Regions from separate parts of the Homo sapiens genome. Here all the other regions are linked to region 3. The links are contacts of gene promoters, found by promoter capture Hi-C in blood cells and fetal thymus (Javierre and others, 2016). All regions are on one chromosome and are shown on one strand. Each heading gives the region's core, a stretch centred on a gene start or on the middle of the fragment in contact. The rest is flanking DNA. Distances are from core to core; before and after follow the strand shown. Region 1 overlaps ARHGEF7 (Rho guanine nucleotide exchange factor 7). Region 2 overlaps ARHGEF7 (Rho guanine nucleotide exchange factor 7). Region 3 holds the start of TUBGCP3 (tubulin gamma complex component 3). Region 4 has its middle 120 kb from the start of LINC02337. Region 5 overlaps ARHGEF7 (Rho guanine nucleotide exchange factor 7).

Region 1 (2,902 bases), core at 128-2,627, 1.3 Mb before region 3:
CTTGCTTTGCTCACTTTGTTTTTTGCCGTCGTCTTCTGTGCTTGTTTGAAAAGCTGTTTGAAGAGGTAAGGGGTGGGCCATTCCGTTGTGAACACTCTGAGCTGGTGTGCATGTGGCCCCTGCACAGCAGCCCTGGCCGAGCTTGGCTGTGCTCCTGGCACTCAGAGTCAGGTAGCTGAGCACTCGCTCCCTTTTCTTCTCCCTGAAACTTCAAATATTTTCTTAAAGCAATTATTTTTTACTTATCTGTCATTTAATGACAACCTTAGTTTCCTCCTCTCTTTCCAGTTAGCTGTGCCAGGGGATAGGTCTGTCCTAGGGAGCAGCTGCCCCCTCCTCTCCTCCTCCCTCAGGAGCGTGCAGGATGTCTGTGCACACCAGCGCCAGCCTGCCTCCTGGTGACACCTCTCATCACAGGACTAACAGGACCCAAATGACACGAGGGGTTTTATTAGAATTAAAAAAAAAAAATTAGCCAATGACTAATACTGAAAATGCCCTATTGATTTTTAAAAATTAACGTTCAGAAGCTGGTAAAGAAAAATCAAAGTAGGAAAAGGCGAGAAGCTCTTATCAGTGGCTATAATAATTTGGGGTTTTATACCTTTACAGCAGCCTTTCTGATATGCCAGTGAAAATGATTGGCTTTAGAGTATGTTAGCATTTTCTTTTGTCTTTCCCTAGGATCTTAGTAAGAGCCCTAAGACCATGAAAAAGCTGCTGCCCAAGCGCAAACCTGAACGGAAGCCTTCAGATGAGGAGTTCGCGTCCCGGAAAAGTGAGTACCTGCGGTCCGTGTGGTGGAGGACGTGGCCTCCTGGTCACGTAGGCCATGGCTTTCCTGGGATAGAGGGAGGCTTGGTGGCTTTCTGAAGACTCCAAACAAAAGTAAGGTCTGCCCCTTGAGGCAGTGATAGGAATAAGCCACGTAACATTTACCCAAGCAAGCAGGAGAAGCGCCTTTGTGTCAGTGGTGAAGCCTCCGTGCCAGTCCCGGCACCACTGCCTTATAGCCCCTTCCTCATCCAGGAGCTGGGGCCGGACCTGGAGGGCTCTCCTGCTCTTCTGGTTCTCCCTCTCGCCTATAAGATATTCCACCCACACTTCCTGAAGTGCCAGCATCTCCCAAAGCACCCTGTGTCTGTTAGAAGCGTGACCTGCTGTGTTCTCCTGTGGGTAGCACCCACCCGTGCTGTTCTCTTGCTGGTCTCTCTGCTGTTGGACCTGTCCTGTCTGCTCCTCAGGCCTAGGGGTCTGACTCAGCTCTGGGTTCCTATGTGGCCTCGCAGCAAGCACCTGGCACCTGTTAGGTGCTCGGTAGATAGCTTTTGAATAAGTGGAGCTCTTTTCAGAAGTAAGTGATTTTCCTGGGGGTGACTGCTGGGAAGGGGTGCACGTGAACAGATTGCTGTGGACTGATGGGTGCAGCCCAGGGAGAGAGAGCCAGCTCTGGGAAAGTTGCAGGATCTGTCCTACAGGGCTCTGCCCTGCCCCGCCCCTGTGTCTGAGCTCAGCCTTTGTTGGTCCTTTGCCTTCACTGCTCACTTCCTCCAGCCTCAGGAGGAGGCCCAGCAGCCGTCCCACACGCTCACTGTGCCATGCCACTGCTGGCCTCCCCTCACCGCCACCTTATCATCAATCAGCCCAGTGAGGTGACCGTGCTGGGGTGTTCATTCTTTTCTTGTCCTTGTCACCTGATGTCCATGGCAGTATAAGTCACCATCCTGACTGTCCTTCTCCTTAGGTAGTCCAGGTCCCTGACCACCAGGGCCCCTGATGAGATGGTGAGGCCCTGGGGTCTAGTGATTGAAGTGGAGCTGGTGCTGGATGCCTGCTCTGTTGCTTACTGGCTGTGCCGGGGCTTCTCTCTGAGAGGGCTGTTCTGTGGGCCACTTCCTTCAGCAGATCCAGGGGCAGCACTGAGCTGGGCCGGGGGCCGGCTGCAGCTGAGACCATCGTTCATGGACGCGTGCTTCATCAGCACCTTCGTGGGCTGGGTGGGAAGGATACAGTGTGGCCGAAAGAGATCCCTGTTCTCATAGAGCCTATGTTTTAGTAGGAGGATACAGACAAGAAACAAAACAAGTGAACAATGTGTGGGCCATGGAGTGCTGCAGAGACCCAGTGGGGAGGACAGGTGGGAGATTCGGTGCCAGGGCGCCATTTGAGCAGCCTCCTGGGGCTGAGGAAGCAGGCCAAGCAGGTGTCTGGGGAGGAGCTCTCCAGGCCTGGTTGCAGAGACCCTGAGCAGGAACCCCAGGCTGTGCCCAAGGGACAGTGCGCTGTGTGGGCCCAAGCTCCCCTGGCAGAGCGGGAGGTAGCACAGCACCCTGAGCAGCAGGCAGCCAGAGTCCGGTTCCATAGACAAGATGATGGGCCCGGGTTTTCACAGGACCACGGGCTGCCGTGTGGGGAACAGACAGGCACGGATGGCCACGTCGACACTGAGAGTTGTCGGCCTTTTGTTTTCATCTGGCTGGCGTGTGGAAACACGAAAATGTTTTAATTTTCATTTCTTGTTTTAGCGAGATTGGACATTTTTTCTTAGAACTCTTCTTGTTTTGTGACTTCCTTATTCCTATCTCCTGCCCTTTTTTCAGTTTGAGAGTGGGGATACTAATTTTCTTACGGGTTGGTAGGATAATCATTATAAAGTTAGGATGTTCGCCGTTTTTCCAAATGTGTTGCAAATATTTTTATTTGCATTTATTTTATTTTATTTTGAATATAACTCATGAATTTTGTAGAAAACAGTTATCTGACAAGAAAATCAAGGGCAGATTATCTTACTTGGTCACTTTGGTCGAGTTGATGTCTGCATTGCATTCGTCTCGCCAGTTGCCCTAGAGGCCTTTCAGTTCGACTGTGAACTGTTGCGCATCTCTTGACAGGCACAGCTGCT
Region 2 (3,009 bases), core at 45-2,544, 1.4 Mb before region 3:
GAAGGCTATGAAAGGGTTTCAGTAAATTGTCCATTCCCACCCCCAGAAAAAAATCACAGAATCACAAAACTTGGGTTTAGTTTTTTGAAGCTTGAGAGATGATTTTTGAAACTAAACAAAGGAAATATTAAAGATGTAAAAATGGCATAGTTTTGTGGTTTTGATATGTTGACTCCAAGAAAGTGATGCTGTGTTGAGAGAATAGGTTCCTTGATGACTGATCGCCAGTGAAGTGTTTATGGAAGCCAGGAGTGTTGGATGACATGAGGAGGGTAGGTGACATTGCTTCTATAATATGTTCTTTGATGCCTGTGCCAGAGAGGATGCAGACAGCAACTCAGTATTCACAATTTGAAGCAGACCTTATCATTTCTCTTTTAATCAGTAGTTCTGAACTTTTTGGTGTTCAGTAATTCGGGAAGTTGGCTTAGGTAACAAATAATGACAATAGTAGCGGTTAAGTTTGGGGATGCTTACTGTGGGGTTGTGCCAGGCAGAGGCAAATCCGTTTAACATGTACTAGTTTACTTAATCCTTAAAAAAGTCACTTGGCATTGTTGGGAAGAGAAGAAAGTCGTGTGTTAGGAGAGAATTGCAGAGGTCGTTAATGCCACTGTATTAGTCTGTTCTCACATGGCTATAAATACCTGAGACTGGGTAATTTATAAAGAAAAGAGGTTTAATGGGCTCATGGTTCCACAGGGTGTACAGGAAGCATGATGTTGTCATCTGCCCTGTTTCTGGAGAGGCCTCAGGAAACTTACAATCGTGGTGGAAGGCAAAGGGGAAGCAGGCTCGTCTTAACTGGCCGGAGCAGGAGCAAGGGAGTGGGGAGGTGCCACACACCTTGAAACAACCATATCTCACCAGCACACACTCATCATCACGAGAACAGCACCAAGGGGAAATCTGCCCCTCACGATCCAGTCACCTCCCACCAGGCCCCACCTCCAACATTGGGGATTATACTTCGACATGAGAACCAAGCCACATCAGCCAGAGGCTTCTTCCTGGTCCTTGCGTTGGTAACCAGGACCTTGCTTGTGAGACATTATTGGAAGATTTTTTGGTGGAATTATATTTTTAACTTTGGAGTCATTCTTACTGTAAAATATATTTATGCTGTTACAGTAATGAACATTTAATGATCACCTCTGTTTGCTAGACACCGTTCTAGTTGCTGGAGGTGGCTTGGTGAGTAAGGGAGGAGGGGCCCTGCTCTTAGGGAGTGTAATTCTAGTTGGGGAGACACTTAAGCAAAGGAATGAGCGTGTGAACAAATAAAACTGTCATGCGCAACAACTGCAGAATATCAGGGGGTGAGGTGAGAGAGCACCTGAGTGCTGACTTAGATTGGGTGATCAGAGCAGGCCCCTCTGCAGAGGTGACGCTTTTAGAGATTGGGTGATCAGAGAAGGCCCCTCTGCAGAGGTGACGCTTTTAGGATTTGCTCTCACAGCCAACGTGATACAAGCTAGCCACTCTTCTTTTTTTGTAGACAGAGTCTTGCTCTGTTCTCCCTGCTGGAGTGCAGTGGTGTGATTTCAGCCCACTGTAACCTCTGCCTCCTGGGATCAAGCAGTACTCATGCCTCAACCTCTCGAGTAGCTGAGATTACAGGCATGTACCACCATGCCTGGCTAATTTTTGTATTTTTAATAGAGACGAGGTCTTGCCATGTTGGCCAGGCTGGTCTTGAACTCCTGGCCTTAAGTGATCCACCCGCCTTGGCCTCCCAAAGTGCTGGGATTATAGGCGTGAGCCACCGTGCCTGGCGCAGTTAGTCAATCTTCTGAGGAAGACCAAACGTGGACGTCAGAATTGCTCTTCTGTTGACCATTTTCTTCCTTCTTACTGGAATTTCTTCTTATTTTATCTCTTATGTAGGGAAGCTGGGTGAGAATTGATCATGTTACTGGCGTTATCAACGGCCTTGCACAAGGCTGCTCACTCAAGCCTTCCTGCCTTTACTGAATGCAGTGCTAAGTGGCCGGGGAAAGTGCTGTGTGTTACCCTTAGGCCAGATTCACTTTCTGGAAGGTTCTAGAAGGTTCCTTGTTGGGAGATGATGGTGGCTACCCCAAGGGTCTGGCTCCGCTCTGGGAGGACTTGGGAGAACTCTGATGACGGATGGTGCCCAGGCCCCTGGAAGCAGAGCCTGCTGCTGTGTGTTTGAGGTAAAAATGGGAGACCTGCTTGTTGGGTACTTGGGACAAGAAGTTTGATTTGGGAATTTAATTTATGGCAGATAACAGATAATCAGTCTCAGTCTTTTCTGTTGCAGATATAAAAAGCAGCAGTGGTTATCTTTAATTTTTAAAAGCATTTTATCCTTTTTCTGTTGTTTGTGTCCATAAGAAAAATGCATGCATACCAAATATCCATCATAAAATAGGGAACTAAGAATTTTGTGTGCACTGGATTTTCTTTTTTTAAAATTATTGTTTGAAATCTGTTAAACAAGGGCTTGAACTCAAATGAAAGAACTGGCTTTTACTTTAAGCTTAAGCTCACCAATGCACTCTTAGAGTTACTTTTGTTCAGGGCTCTGTATAACCAAATGGAATTAGCCTGAGGAAGGTACGGTTTTTTCCACAGCATTTTGTTTGTGATGAGGAGGCTAAGATAGTTTAAACTGTGTGAGCTGGCACTGTTGTAACCATAAAGATTTGAGGTATTTGGGTTTTGGTTGTAGCCAAGCCTAGCTTGGGAGCTGCGTGTGCAGGAGTACAGGTGTCTGAACAGAGTGTGGCTGCTCAGTGCTGGATGAGGCTCTTTGGTGACAGTCTTTGAAAGCAAATTAAAAAAAATAAAGTGAAAAGCATTAAAAATAATTTCACTTTGTTTATAGAGTTACACTTTAATATCGCTCCAGGTTACATGCTTGAATCTACAAGTCCTTTCCCTTCATGCTTTGATCTTTTAGTTGAGGAAGTTGGCTCATTATGTATGTGTTCAATTTGCATGAGCAATTTTTATGTGATGGAGTAAACATCAGTGTGATCTTTG
Region 3 (3,044 bases), core at 224-2,723:
TTATTGCTAATTAACATGGCTGGTTTATCATCTGTCTCTTCCAGTAGAGTGTCTGTCAGATCTGTGGGAGGAATGACTTGTGCATCTGCATCACCAGCACTTAGCACAGTTCCCGGGGGGAACTTTGAGGACGGGGTTGTCCTCAAAGATTTCTTAGATAAATAAAGTGATAGAATCAAACTTTACAAGATGCAGCAAGAACTGTGTGAAGTCACTCATTTAATAGCGACACAAAATTATTCATGATTGCCCCAAGATTATCATAGAACATCCAATGAATTATGTACAGTAATTGTCATGAAGCATGAAAGGTCAAAATGCATTCTCAGTACTTTAAATGTAACTTTGAAGTCTTCCTTCAAAAATTGAGTAACTTCTTTTCCACATTTTGGTGCTTAAGATGTAACTCAGTTGCTTCCATTACTCAGAAAATTCCCTCATGGTGCATCCTCACTCTCTGCCCCACCAACCTGGCCAAAACAAGGAGCAAGAAATGGCATCCTGTACCATTTCTTTCAAAGTACCTCGACTACAAAATGGTTTTACCTACCGTATAGGATTAGTTTTGCTTATTAGTAACAATATTCGCCATGTGAACTTTCCCAGAATAGTTTTATATCAAATCCAACCTTCAACCCTTTAAACAGTAGGAAAACACGGCAGTTACAGTCGTTAACACCCTCTTCCCATAATACTCAAGCCTGTTAAACTTTCCTAACGAAAAGGGACGATGATGTGACACTCCAGCACCCCGCATCCACCTCCGCGGCGCAGCCGCTCTCTCCACCCCACAGGATGAACCCAAAGGCGCGCAGAGGCGCCCTCCCACGGCGCGTGACACCAGAGAAGGGGGATAAATTGGCGAGCTGGCATTCCTCCCGTCCTCACTGACGGACCCGCGAGCGGAGTGAGCGGTGACTCAGCCCGCTCCGGCTCGGCTCCGCCCTCCCGCCTCCCGCCCCGGCGTTCTCGCCCCGGCCTTGGCCTCTCCACTCCCTCCGCCCCGGTCCTGGCCCCCAGCCCTCCGCTGTCCTCCCCGGCTCCCTGACCCTCGAACCCCAGCCCTCCGCTCCCTCGTCCGGGCCCCACGTCCTCGGCCCGTCCCCCAGCCCTCTGCCCGGCCCTGCATCCTCGTTCCTCCAGCCCCGGAACGTATTAGGGCTGCACGCGCAGGGAGCAGCCCCCGGGACGGGTCTGCGGGCTTCGCGTCGCCCGGCCACTCTACCTTCGCTCCTGCCCAGGATCCTGCAGCACAGGTTCTGCAGCAGAACGTTCGGCGACTTCTGGTCCGGGGTCGCCATCCTCGCCCGGAGCCGTGCACGGTGGTCCGGGCAGAGCCGCCACTGCCGCCGCACGCGCAGGGACCGCGGCCCGCGCCCTTCCTGCGCCCCGCAAGCTCCCTGCTCCTGACAGGCTAAGGCGCGGGCGCCGCCGGCCACCAGGGCGCCATTTTAACGGAACCCGCCGAAAGCGCGGGCGCTTCCCACAATGCCCCGCTTCTTCCCTGCGCCGCGGCCGCGCGTGCGGCTGCCTAAGCGTTCCCGGCCCTGTCTGGTGCATTCCCCCTGCTGCTGCCCGGTCGGCCGAGAAAGTTCCGGGCGACAGGTGGCCCGAGGCCCTCGAGCTGCGCGGACAGAGCGGCCCCGGAGTCGCGAGCGTGACGGGCTTGCTTGGAGGGCACTTGGTGGCCGGTAGCACCATAAAGGCCATAATTTGGTGTGTGGGTGTGGGGGTGTGTGTGTTAACGGCATTGGTTTGATTCACACTTCTGATGAAAGAAGCCTGTTTAAAAAAGAAAAGAAAAAAGAAGCCTGTTTAAAGGGTGCAGGGTGTTACGATTGTTAACGTGCAGTGGGCAGTTCACCTGCTACGCTATCCAACAGGCGCCCTGCTCAGGCCCGACCTCGCACTGCCGCGCGGGCCGGTCCCCCCCGGCCCGGGTAACTGGGACGTCCTGGGAAAATAAATTAATCACGTACGGAGTGAGAGAACAGGAAACCTGCCGAGAAAAAGATCGATAAGCAGACAATTACACCAAGCCAACTTCAGTGCAATCGTTAAAGCTTACACATGGGTGCACGCTTGGGAGCCGTGAGCTACCATGTTAAAAGGCCAACTTCCTAAGGAAAAATGATGGAAAGAGATCCCGAGATCCTATGAAATGGAAGAGGGAGGACAACCCAGCTATCCCAACATCCCAGCTGAGGCCAGCCACACACGTGACTGTCTGCAAAGCCCGTCGGGCCTGGGTCCAGCTCAGGTTGCAGAATTGTTGGCAAGTAAAACGTTTGTTGTCGTTCTGACTCAAAAACATGGAGACAAAGCAGACTTGTAGGGTATTACAGTCAACAACTAGACCCTACAGCTAAAGGACTGTCTCCTTGCATGATGCAACAACCATCACAGCTCTGCAAGAGCAACCAAACCACCAAGGATGCGATCACCCCTCACTGCCTTCGATACGCATTCTGTGGAAACGCTTCTAAACTTGCATCACACTCAACACGATCAGTTAGTAACTGGCTTCTCATGAAGTTATTCTCTCAGCCGCATACTACAATGTCCAGATGTCATCTAAATCCTGCCACCCTCTCCCCCACCTTCAGCTGAAACGCTGCATGACTGCATCATCTTACCTGACCAGCTCTCTCCTAGGACAGACATGCAAGAACCCCCCTCACTAACGCTGATGTTATTTGGTTTACAGATGGCTCTTACTTAAAGATGCAGCTGGAAGGTATTACACTGGTTATGCCATAGCGTCTTTGCCCAAAGAAATAGAAAGTGCTTGTCTTCCAGGAGCAATCATCTCAACAAGCAAAGTTAATAGCATTAATTAGAGCCTGTCAGTTGGCAAAAGGAATAACTGCTAATCTTTATACCAATAGCAGGTATGCTTATAGAGTAGCTCATAACTTTGGAATGCTATGGAGACAAAGGATTTTTAACCTTTTCTAGTCAGCCCACAAAAAAATGGGTGCCTTGTTTCAGAATTATGGCAAGCCATACTATTGCCAAAATCATTAGCCATTATCAAGATTCCA
Region 4 (2,775 bases), core at 66-2,565, 1.1 Mb before region 3:
GACGGGGCCAGGCAGGCATGAAGCGGAGGCCAGGGGGCTGTGCCAACCTGGAAAAAGTACACATGTAGAAAGTACATGAAGAACGTGATTACCTACAACAGCCCCAGCCAAGCACAGCTGTTCACATTGGGCCCATTTTCTAGGAGTGTGTCTAAGTGGGTGTGAATGGCTGTGTTCAGACTGCATACTCTTTGTATTGTCCCATTTGTCAATGAAAAGTAAGTCCTTCACTTTGGACTGGAAGTCCAACTTTTTTTTTTTTTTTTTTTTTTTGAGGCAGAGTCTTGCTCTGTTGCCCAGGTTGGAGGGCGGTGGTGCAGTCTCGGCTCACGGCAACCTCCACCTCCCAGGTTCAAGTAATTGATTTTCCTGCCTCGGCCTCCAGAGTAGCTGGGATTAGGGGCACCCACCACCATGCCTGGCTAATTTTTTTTGTACTTTTAGTAGAGATGGGGTTTCACAATGTCGGCCAAGCTCGTCTTAAACTTCTGACCTCAAGTGATCCATCTGCCTTGGCCTCCCAAAGTACTGGGATTACAGGCGTGAGCCACCACGCCCGGCCTAGAAGTCCAACTTTTTACCCTTTTGTCCAGACAAGACCTAGTCTTTTTTAGGGGGAGGTTCTGATTAGTGAGTGTAGATTTGCACTTGGTACTGAGGCCTGGTCATGTTTTTAAAGTGTTTCATTGATAAGCTACGGGTGCATGAAAATGTCTTATAATCACACCAGTGTTTGCACCTTAATGTTGTCGTGGGGTGAAACAAGGCTCTATCCATTCACGCTTGGACCACAAGGTCACCTGTGCTTGTTCCCTGCAACTTTGATGTGGGGCTGGTAGGAGACCTCCTGCTATGGGACAGGGGCCAATTCGGGGAGTGTCGAGGTCCCCCTCCGCCAGAGGGAAGCTGCAGCCCCAGTGAGGGGTCAGGAAACCCCGAGTGCTCGGGAACAAGGCTCCAGGGAGTCACTGTCCCAAGCTGGGGAGTTTTCTAAAGGTGTTCGTTGTTGTGGATGGAAGCGACGTTGCTGCCGGACTGGGACGCAGGTGCCAGGGGATACAAGCGAGTTCCGGCTTCACCCACTTTCTTGGTGCCTGTTAGGGAGGCGGGAGCTGTGAGTGTCCTGGAACCCTGCATTTCTTCTCTTGGCTTCCTTTTTATTCTAGAGCTCATGGTCTCTGATGGAGGCTGATTAAATCCCTGGATCTGGTATTTCTAAAGAGTGAGGTTTCTTGTCTTGCCACCAGATGTCAGTAAAATCCCTCTTAAAATAAATGTGCTGCTGGGCAGGTGGATCCAGAGAAGGGAGTCCTGTCTAGGATTTGAGGCTTGGCTGAGGTGCCGGAGAAGGCTGTGGTCCTGTGTGCTGATATGGGCAGCTCTGGTCCCCAGGCTCCTTGGGGAGGCCTGACTCTGAAAGCTCCCCCAACTTGCCTGCCTTGCAATCCCAACTCTGCTGGCACCCTCGCTTGTGCAGGAGGCCACTGCAGTGCAGGCGTGGGACGCGGAGCTGCTGCTGAGGGACCGGGGAGGGGCCCCACGCTGGGGTCTCAGCACTCAGGTTCCTCTGCTTCCGGCAACACCTCGGGCTCCATCTGTGCAGGATTTGTTGCAGGAACAGGGGAGGCTTTACAGGGCTTTGTTCAGCGTGGTTCTGCCTGAGGGCGATGACATTTTTATTTATTTTAATTTATTTTTTTGACACGGAGTCTCGCTCTGTTGCACAGGCTGGAGTACAGTGGTGCGATCTCAGCTCACTGCAACCTCCGCCTCCCGGGTTCAAGTGATTTTCCTGCCTCAGCCTCCTGAGTAGCTGGAGGCTACTCAGACGTGCGCCACCACGCCCAGCTAATTTTTGTATTTTTAATAGAGACAGGGTTTCACCATGTTGGTCAGGCTGGTCTCGAACTCCTGACCTTGTGATCCGCCCGCCTCAGCATCTCAAAGTGCTGGGATTACAGGTGTGAGCCACCACTCCCAGCCAACATTTGTTAATATAACTGCAGAGCCACATCGCGTCCACACCAGGGATGCTGTCGGGGTGACTCTCCATAGGCTGGAGAGGACCCCAGGAGACAGGGGAGGGATGGTGCTGACGGAGGTAGCAGAGGGCCCCGGGTGCAATCCCTATAATTCCCATGCTTTGCCACTTTACCTTAGAAATAGGGACCATCTCTGGATTGTATTTATTGCTCATGAAACAGTTTCACGCCTCTTTTCCACTTGTTCCAGCAGAAGCGTGTGGGTGGCACTGATTCCATTAACGTGTTGTCATCTTATTTACTGGGTTGATACTGATTCCAGAAGCTCTGGGCTGAGAGTGGCCCAGGGTGGGCCTAGCTGTCCTGCTGGGGGCTGGGAGGGCGGCGAGGTGACTGGATGTGCAGGCTTTAGGTAGAGCTGCACTTAAGTCCCAGCCACACTCGTGATTCCTGGATCACCCTGGGAAGTGTCCTGATCGTCCATCTTGCTCCTGTATCTCTAGAATGGCAGCAGTAATGCCTCTGCCATCAATATTTTGAAGTTTAAACAGATACTATCTGAGCTGTAAGAGCAAGAAGTCATGGTGAGCTCTGCAGAAGAGTGAGGAGGGACAGGAGCTAAGAAAGGGCCGAGCCAGCCCTGTAGGCCTCCCACGGGCTTGGAGGGCCCTTGTCTTAGTGGACAGATGAATTGCTTGGGTGATGATGAGCTGGCTGGGGGTTTGGTGGGCCCCTGTCTTAGTGGACAGATGAATCTGCTTGTGTGAACATGAACTGACTGGGGTATCTTTAC
Region 5 (3,154 bases), core at 647-3,146, 1.4 Mb before region 3:
GTGGAAGTGAGGTGCTTAAATGTGAGGCCACGTTCAAGTACAGGGTCACATTCTTCCATGTCATTGAAAATGTTTTCCAAGGCAGAATTCTATTCTGATATTTTGGCTGCTGTGAGAAGGACAATTCTTGGAGTCTTAGGGTGACTTTCATCCCTGACTATGCTCCCATGTTTTGCCATCTCATCCAGGTTTTTGTTTGTGGGTTCTACTGCCTTCTCTGACAAAATTTCCTCCACATCTTCTTCCTTCATGTCATTGAAACCTTCTCCACTTATTTGCCTTGCAATATGCATTGTTTTTTTACATTGTTTTTTATATTTTCTGAAACACCTTCAAAGCCTTGAAAAGTTTTCACAGAGTCTGGCCAAATGTTTTCCCAGCAGTTATTGATAGTAGCCTGCTTGATGCTGTCCCACGCTGTGCCAACATAATCAATAATGCTGCGTATAGTGAGTGATTTCCAGTAGTCTGTCATGGTGGCTTCCTTGTTGGCGTCAAGAGCCTCACAAGCTTTACAATAAAGTTCCCTCGTGTAGTGTGCCTTGAAAGTTTGTATTATGCCCTGAGGGGCTGGACGAGAGATGTAGTATTGGGGGCATGAAAAGAACTTCTTTGTTGGGGTGAGCATTTTCAAGTTCATCGTGCAATGAACTGGGGCATTATCCAAAATTAATAAGACCCAGAAAGCAAGGTTTTTGCCCTAGAGATATCGTTCAACTTCTGGAATGAAGCAGTGGTGGAACCAATCCCAGAATATTTCAGATACCAGCCATGCTTTTCTGTTCTACCGCCAATGGACTGGCATGCAGTTCAGATTTTTCCCTTTAAGGGCTCATGGGTTTTGGGCTCTGTACACCATCAGAGGTTTGCACTTAAAGTCGCCCTTGGCATTGGTGCACAATAGCAAGGTTGAATGCTTTAAAGTCAGGGGCTCGTGTGACCATTTACATTACATAGGTTCATTTGCCAACATTCTTATAAAACAAGCAGTCTCATCAGCATTGAAAACCTGCTCTTTACCATAACCCTTTAACCCTTTTCACGTATAACACTTAGCAGACATTTTAAAAATTCTTCCGCAGCCTCCTTATGGCAGAACCTGCCTTGCCTGCAAGTTTAAAATTTGATTTCATGCTGTACCGCCTTTTGAAACGTGCCAGCCAGCCTGCACTGGCTGAGAAGGGTTTAATATTTTCCTGACCTTGGGTAACATGGCTGTAAATTTCTTTGGCTTTCAGCCTCACAACAATACTGCTCACTACACTACAAAAGTCCATATATGACTTTTTTTATTGGTTGTCGTCTCATGAATCCACAATTTTAGCTGCTTTTCCATCTTTTCCATAGCTTCATCACACACTATAGATGTTACTTTAGCACTTTCTGGAGCAGCCTCATGTACAGATGTGAATGCACTGTATTGTTGATTCATTAACATTGAACTCATGGCCAACAGCACTATAACTCATGCCCGAACAAAGCTTATCTAACACATGTATTTTCTCTGTTAAGACACATCACAGCCTTCTTGCGCTTAGGGACATTAGACAGCATTTCAGCACTACGTTTGGGGGCCATTTGAAACAGAAATCACCATCGGAAAGCATAGAAATTTGAAAAATGTGACACTAAGTAGAGTGAGAAGAGGACATATGTTTACAGAATGAGAACTAAAAAAAAAAGGCAGAGCATGGCCTTATTCAAGCACAGCTGGGAACGTGTACATAAGGTGATCCAAATTTTTCACTGTTCTGCTTGTGTCCATATATGACTGAGAGTGCTTCAAGTATTGATTTTTGGGTTACACATAATTTTTAGCCAAGTAGCTGAGTTCATAAATACAGACTCTTTGAATGATGATTGACTGTATTTGTAGAGGTTACTTGCCAAAAAAGAGTGTGTTTCAAGCATAAAAATAGACTATATGAGGATACAACTTTTTGGGTGAAGTGGAATGAATTAAAGGAGAAAGAATTAATGTCTGACTTGTTCAGAAACTTTTTAGATGGAGAAATGGGTATTATGTTTCTATTACACTTAGATTCTATTGGATATATTTTTTATAAAGGATGCAATGGTTTAATTTAAAAATGTCATCAGAATGTCAGAAATTACATCCTTTACAACTATTTAAAACTATGAAGAAAAAAATTAGGTATTACCTAGATATGTGATAATTTTTGAAAATTATTTTAAAGAGCAAAACGGATTAGGAAGCAGCTTTGCTTTTGCCATTCCACTGAAAAAATGTACAGTTTCGATGGAAACATGTCAGCACTTGCTTGAAGGAATTTTTCAACTATAGAAAGAAAAAAGCTTCATTTCATCCCTTTTGGCATTGCTGAACACTTGGTTTTGATGTATAATTTTAAAACACCTGAGCACCATAAAATGAAACCACAGTATTCCTGAGTAGCCTGGTGAAATGTCGTGATTTTCTCCTACAGTACAGAAGGACAAAAATGCCTTTAATGTCCTCAAATGCTAGAGTTCTAGATGACGCATTAGTTTAAATGTCAACGCTTAATGTCTTCACATGTAATTTGGAACATAAGTTTTCTTACAGTTAAAATAATCCTTAGAGCAAAAAACAAAATAAAGTTTTTCGTATGCCTCAGGCTTCTTAAAATTTTCTAGTAATTGGTACTGTTTCTGGTTTCCTTAGTTTCTTGCCGTGGGTAAGGTCCAAACACCTTACATGTGTTGCTGGTGGCCCTCACAATTCTACCTTGGACTAAAGCACTAGGGAGTCTGTAGGCGCCTTCCTGCGCTCCTCCACTGCGGTGGATCCACAATTTCTTCTCAGCTGACTTACTGGTTTTCATGTTAACTATTTCGGTTAATCATTCATGAAGCGCGTGGCTTATATTTGGGAAAACATTGCACCTTAATCCCAACATGCATAATTTATGTTGCTTAATTATTTTAAGTCATTGCATTAGAATAGTAACTGCGCTCTCCATGAGCCTAGGCTAGAAAGAAGGGAAAAAATCCCAGGTTCTCTCCCAACGATCAGGGGTTACTCAAGCCGCCCGAGTTCTCTGGGGCCCCTCTGGGCCAGGCTGCGTCCACTTGGGAGAGGCCGAGGACCTGGCGCCAAGAGGCGGCGGTGTCTGCGCTAGGGGCCGAGCGGGTGCGCTGTGTCTGCGGGGCC

Evidence for each region. Contacts are between HindIII fragments. The CHiCAGO score rates a contact against its expected background, and 5 or more counts as called.
Region 1: a contact is called between a fragment that was not itself captured here and the fragment with the promoter of TUBGCP3 in region 3, in 2 of 17 cell types (M1 macrophages and endothelial precursors). The highest score is 7.1, in M1 macrophages.
Region 2: a fragment that was not itself captured here is called in contact with the fragment with the promoter of TUBGCP3 in region 3 in 1 of 17 cell types (M1 macrophages); the score reaches 5.2 in M1 macrophages.
Region 4: a fragment that was not itself captured here is called in contact with the fragment with the promoter of TUBGCP3 in region 3 in 1 of 17 cell types (endothelial precursors); the score reaches 5.4 in endothelial precursors.
Region 5: a contact is called between a fragment that was not itself captured here and the fragment with the promoter of TUBGCP3 in region 3, in 1 of 17 cell types (naive CD8 T cells). The highest score is 5.3, in naive CD8 T cells.

The regions. Positions count from the first base shown.
Region 1 is chr13:111,285,463-111,288,364 of GRCh38, forward strand. It overlaps ARHGEF7 (Rho guanine nucleotide exchange factor 7), which reads left to right. Exons shown (of 22, transcript NM_001354046.2): 17 at 685-778; 18 at 2,892-2,902. Among named protein-coding and RNA genes, the nearest start is that of TEX29, 34 kb to the right of the region's middle. The HindIII fragment of the contact is 3,119 bases long and covers 1-2,902 here.
Region 2 is chr13:111,168,621-111,171,629 of GRCh38, forward strand. All of the region lies in intron 2 of ARHGEF7 (Rho guanine nucleotide exchange factor 7), which reads left to right. Among named protein-coding and RNA genes, the nearest start is that of ARHGEF7-AS1, 22 kb to the left of the region's middle. The HindIII fragment of the contact is 2,413 bases long and covers 89-2,501 here.
Region 3 is chr13:112,586,680-112,589,723 of GRCh38, forward strand. TUBGCP3 (tubulin gamma complex component 3) reads right to left here and starts at 1,474. Exons shown (of 22, transcript NM_006322.6): 1 at 1,226-1,474. The coding sequence starts at 1,301. LOC124903251 (a long non-coding RNA gene) reads left to right here and starts at 1,507. Exons shown (of 2, transcript XR_007063945.1): 1 at 1,507-2,737. RefSeq lists silencers at 945-1,064, 1,095-1,154, 1,185-1,404 and an enhancer at 1,470-2,289. The HindIII fragment of the contact is 2,856 bases long and covers 1-2,061 here.
Region 4 is chr13:111,473,383-111,476,157 of GRCh38, forward strand. No RefSeq gene overlaps it. Among named protein-coding and RNA genes, the nearest start is that of LINC02337, 120 kb to the right of the region's middle. RefSeq lists an enhancer at 1,484-1,984. The HindIII fragment of the contact is 7,350 bases long and covers 1-2,775 here.
Region 5 is chr13:111,150,209-111,153,362 of GRCh38, forward strand. All of the region lies in intron 1 of ARHGEF7 (Rho guanine nucleotide exchange factor 7), which reads left to right. It overlaps LOC101060553 (a long non-coding RNA gene), which reads right to left. Exons shown (of 2, transcript NR_120398.1): 1 at 1-3,154. Among named protein-coding and RNA genes, the nearest start is that of ARHGEF7-AS1, 3.2 kb to the left of the region's middle. The HindIII fragment of the contact is 835 bases long and covers 1,480-2,314 here.